Linked DNA regions of Homo sapiens: region 2 is linked to region 1. Evidence: promoter capture Hi-C in human tissues and cell types (Jung and others, 2019). All regions are on one chromosome and are shown on one strand. Each heading gives the region's core, a stretch centred on a gene start or on the middle of the fragment in contact. The rest is flanking DNA. Distances are from core to core; before and after follow the strand shown.

Region 1 (2,700 bases), core at 169-2,668:
TTACTCTAAAATTAGTATTTTATTTATAGTAAAGTTAAGCAACAACTAACAGCCATATAGCCAACCCAGCTTTCAATAAATTCACCTTTAAACCTAAATGCATGTTTAGCAAATAAAAGCTTTTTTTCAGGTGAAAAGATAAACTAGAAAAGACAGTTACCTACTAACAATATTAGTTTAAAACCTAGGGTAGCCAGAGGATACTGAGGAAAGCAAAGGAATGCTGCCTCTTCTCCTTGGAAGAACAGAACCTGGAAAGCTACCAGGGACGCTGGCACACAGCCCACAGAAAACTGCCCACCCGGCTCCGCAGCGGTCATCACTACGGGGCCATTATTCAGGCTTCTGCTCCGCGATAAAGTAAAAATGCTCCCCTCAAATGCAAAACCAGCCAGTCCACGCGGCTTTAATTACTCAAGCAAGGCCTGTGCGACTAAAAAGCAAACAGCTGTTTTGAAGTTGGTGACAACTCAGAAACGCACTTCAAGTCAAATATTCACTTCCAAAGAGGTAAATAAGGTACATTACAAACAGGCAAACTTTTTCCCAAAGGGAGGTGGTGCCAGGCCTGGCTTCCTAAAGTTGCCGGTTTTATTTCCTCGTAACCAGGAAAAATTCCACCATCGCATCGATCCCGCTTTAATAGGTATGCGGGTGTGCTGTGCAATCTAACTAAACGCAAAGCAGAGAATGCAGAACGCAAAACACCTAGCCGAGGAGAGACTGGCAAAATAAACCACCGGGGGAGGATCCCTGAGGGGCTGCTGCGAGCCCGGCGCGGCAGAGAGCACGGCAGCCACTACCGGCCGAGGCGGCTGTGCCCGGGCACTGCGGAGAGCGGCGTGAAGTTTCTGGAAAGAGCGCGGCGGGGGTGAGGCGAGCCGCAGAAGACCGCGGAAAGGAAGCGCACGGAGGAGCGGCTCGGCAGCCCCCGTGGGCCGGCCGGAGCGGGAAAGTGGGGTCCCGCGACCTCCGAGGTAAACAAAGAGCGGTGGGCAGCGGAGGCCAAGCCTGGCCCGCGCCGGCCGCCGCCAGACCGCTTGCCCTTAAGGCCCGAGGACCCGGGGACCGGGGGGCGGCAGCGCGGCCTACGGCCACTCACCAAGATGCGTTTGAAGAGGTTGCTCTCCTTGGGCGGCAGCAGCACGTTCGGCATCGTGGCCGGCAGGGAGGCTAGGTGGCCGGCAGGGAGGCTAGGTGCCCGGGCGCTCCGCTTCGCGGGGGTGGGCACCGGGACGAACCGCTGCTGAGAGTCGGGCTGCGGGCGATGGATTAGTTCATTGGTCTACAGTTGCAATTGGGCAGCCTGGCTGTTCGGCACGGGTGGCAATGGAGAAGGAAGGCGGTCTGAGCAGGACACGCTTCCCCTGGGCTCCGCTTTTTGGCCAGCGGCGGCGGCGGCGGTTCCCGCGCACTGCAAGATGGCAGCCAGGGTCCGCCTCCCGAGCCGGATCCTGTGCGCATGCGCGGAGCGCCCTTTGGCGAGGGGCTGCGGGTGACTACGGGGGCGTAGCGGGGACCAACCGCGTGGATTTGCCTTGTGCTGCGGCTCTCCTCGCCGCAATCTCGGCACCCCCTGGGGCTCAGGCGAGCTGTCACCAAAACCTTGGAGTCCCATGGGGTGGTGAGTCACCACCCTCATTCACCATTGCTCCTATGCATCAGAACGCCTCATAAGACTCCTACTTATTGTCTGCTTCTCCTTGCAATAAAGTAATAAATAAAAACGAGAATTTTCTTTTAAGTAGAAAAGAGAAGACACTGACTTGTATTGCACTCTTGATAAGCTTGTGGCGCAAGATAATGTTAGTTATGACTCTGAAGAGTCAGAGTTTTTTGCATTTCTCCCCATTTAGGAATTTAAGTGTCCGATGCAAAGTAGACTTTTGATGAAAGATGAACTTGTTTTCTTTCCTTTTCCTCCTTGATTCAGACTCTAAGTAGAAGCCTTCTCTTTCCAGGGCAAACCAAACAAACATTTACAATCTTTGTTTTTGTTTGGTTGGTTGGTTTTGAGATGGAGTATCGCTCTTGTCGCCCAGGCTGCAGTGCAGTGGCGCTATCTGGGCTCACTGCAACCTCCGCCTCCTGAGTTCAAAGGATTCTCCTGCCTCAGCCTCCCGAGTGGCTGGGATTACAGGCATGCGCCACCACACCCGGCTAATTTTGTATTTTTAGTAGAGACAGGCTTTCACCATGTTGGCCAGGATGGTCTTGATCTCTTGACCTCGTGATCCGCCCCCGCGTCAACCTCCGAAAGTGCTGGGATTACAGGCGTGAGCCACCACACCTGGCCGGAATTACGGTTTTATAAGGCCACTGGTCTTCTGAGTCTACCTACCCTTTCTCTTCAGATGGTTCCCCTTCCTGAAAGCCATATAATAATGGGAGAAACAGGCTTCAAATTCAGGATCTTCCAACTCTGGGATACTCTCTACAACAAATAAAAGGCAGCATATTGATGGTAATGTGTGAGTCTAGAAAGATACAACAGTGGCAAGAATAAACCATACATTCAGTGTAGGGTTAGTAGTAAGGTGTGTGTAAACATTAGGTACATAAGTTTATTTATACATGTGCTGAATCTTAATGGGTGCATATTTCTGAGACTATAAAGTAATTGATGAGTAACTGCATTTAGTCGGCTGTAATCAGAACTGGGCTGCCCTTTTTTATTTTCCTTTTTTTGAGACGATGTTT
Region 2 (2,700 bases), core at 142-2,641, 610 kb before region 1:
TACGTAAGCTGATGTTTTATATATGTATTTTTCTTTTGATGTCTTCAAAGAACCTTATTTTATTCATCTTTGTATTCTTGGTGCTGAGCATATAGTAGGTCCTTAATAAATATAGCTGTGTGAATAAATTAATTTTTTAGTTCAGTTAGTTCGTGTTGTAAATAATGAGGACTTTGGTGCTAAATATTTTCACCCTTCATGTCCATTATATCTAACTACAGAATGTTACATGGTAAATAGGGGAAAGTTTAGCAGATGAGCACGTAGTTGCAGTGAGGAGGTTAGTCATGCTTCCTTTGAAATCTTGTGTTGTGATGTGGTAGAAAAATCAAATTCAGGGGCATGTTATGGGCCTAGATGTAGATTCTTTCTGAGCTATTTTGTGGGGTGATGAAATGGTAATGAAATGTCAAGTGAAAGTACTCTAACATAGGCTTTACCAGTGAGGATGTAGTAAGTACTGGGTTCCTTTCTCCCTTATTCTTCAGATTTGCCTCTAGGCCCAGCAGGTAATTTGAGTGTAAACTCAGGAGCCTATTCATATCCACCAAATCCACACTATACAGCCTGGTGTCCAGGGTACACAGCAGAGATAGGAGTTTGCAGGTGAGGATGAGACTTGAATAATTCTCCCGTACCTGGTTCTCATTGGCTGAGGGACTGGGCATGGTGCTTTACCTATAATCCTCACAAACCATACTCAATAAGTATTATTATCTTTATTTTGAAAATAAGGAAACTACAAATCTGCGTGTTCTGCACATGTATCTCAGAACTTAAAGTATAATTTAAAAAATTTAAAAAAGAAAATAAGGAAACAGACCTGAAAGAGTCAAAATGCTTGTCTAAGGACATGGATAAAAGACAGGATGAAAAATCACAGTAGGTCTGTCTGGCTTCAAAGACTTTTTTTTTTCCTCCATTATATTATGCTGCTTTTTGGGATACTAAGAAAACATCAACAGTTTTGAAGGATTTATTATAATAGAATCTGACCTATGCTTAATTTTCTAGAATTTTAATTTTAACTTTTATATGTATGAAAATTTGAGTTCATGAAGGGAGAAAATTATAATTTAGATAACTATGATAAAATTACTTTAAAGCCTTTGAATATGGCTGGGCAAAAAATAGTACATATTTTTTGAAAACAAATATTGGTTAGGAATTGAATCAGGGATTTAGGCCAGTATGAACTACATGTTTTTATCTTTACATAGAAAAGGAATCTTAGAATATAGGATCAAGCTCTTTGGGATTATTTTGACATCGGTTTATTATTATGTGGACTCCTGGAAGGTAGCATTTTGTGCCTGAAAACATTGAAGTTGGGGATTTCTCTCGTGTACTGTGCTATGTTTATATTAGGTTATGCATGGCAGTTTGGCACTTTGTTTTGCAGATGTTCGTAATGTACAGTCTTGAATCTTGTTTCTATTTCTGGCGTGCTTTTAAGTATGACTCATGTTTTCTTGAGGCCATTCTAAAAATACAGCTAGTTTCAAGCATTAATGTAAAATATACCACAGATACCACATAGCACTGCATGATGCTTTCTTTCAGTAGTTTAGTGCAATTTCCTGACAAATTAAATATAGACATGCTTTTTGGTAAAATACGCTATACTAAAACATGAATAAGTGAAAGTTGGATTTTCTTTGAGAAGTAGATCCTCTGATAACATAATATTCATTACAAAATAACTTTGAAATTTTAATAAAAGGAATAAAACATACCATTGATACCACCAAAAAGAAGTAGAACTAATGGCTGGAACAGCAAGTCTGCTAAATTTGATGTAGCCCTGAGAGGTCCACACTTGTAGGGAAAGTCTTGCACCTGAAGCTGGACACCTGTTGAAAAGCTTTTGGAGGGACTGTAGAACATAATGACTGAAATACAAGTTTTGGACTTAAACAACTTAGGTATAAATCTTGGTTTATGGACTTAGCAGCTATAGACAAATGATACTACATTTCCAATTTTGATTTTCTTATTGTAAAATGGGAGTAATGAGTATTTAACAAACACAGCATTTACTGTTATTAGACACTGTTCTAAGTGCTTAATATAATCCTCATAACAACTTTATAAGTAAGTACAATTGTATCTATTATACAGATGAGGAAACTGAGCAGAGAGGTTAAATAACTTGATTAAGGTTACATAGCTAGTAAATAGTAGAGTTGGAATTTGAACCCAGCCAATCTGTCTTGAATCTGTGTCTTTATACAATAGGTCTGCTGCTTTCTAGAATTGTTATGAGATCCTATGTGAAAAATCGTTTGTATGTTTACCTGGTACCTGATAGGAATGCAATAAATTATAGCCATTATTAGTATTGTTATTGAGGGAGAATAAAAGCAGGGAAAATGTATTTTCTTTGTGAAGGTATGCCATAGACTACAAGGCCAGCCATGGGATTCAGAAGTAGCTTATATGTATTAAGAAACTTATGTAAAATTGGAATGTGATGATGAGAGCCTTAGATATCCTGACAACTCCTACAGACTTACTCTAAAGGTAGAACTTATTCTCTACTGATTTCCTCGCTAAAAGTTTTATCTTTCAGAAGGTAAAGGAAATAGAGAGAAACTCTTTCTCTGGGCTTAATTGTGACAAACTCATTAGTGGTGTGCAGGCAACAGAGGCCTTGAGAAAAAATAATGACTACACAATATTTCTCAACTATGGTGCCAT

The links. Contacts are between HindIII fragments. The study calls those that stand out against the background at their distance.
Region 2: a fragment that was not itself captured here is called in contact with the fragment with the promoter of NAA16 in region 1 in 1 of the 25 tissues and cell types used here (dorsolateral prefrontal cortex).

Annotation. Positions count from the first base shown.
Region 1 is chr13:41,309,985-41,312,684 of GRCh38, reverse strand. NAA16 (N-alpha-acetyltransferase 16, NatA auxiliary subunit) reads right to left here and starts at 1,418. Exons shown (of 20, transcript NM_024561.5): 1 at 1,103-1,418. The coding sequence starts at 1,156. It also overlaps a transcript of MTRF1 not described here. The HindIII fragment of the contact is 7,787 bases long and covers 1-2,700 here.
Region 2 is chr13:41,915,523-41,918,222 of GRCh38, reverse strand. All of the region lies in intron 2 of VWA8 (von Willebrand factor A domain containing 8), which reads left to right. Among named protein-coding and RNA genes, the nearest start is that of VWA8, 44 kb to the left of the region's middle. RefSeq lists enhancers at 219-338, 1,448-1,527. The HindIII fragment of the contact is 3,772 bases long and covers 1-2,700 here.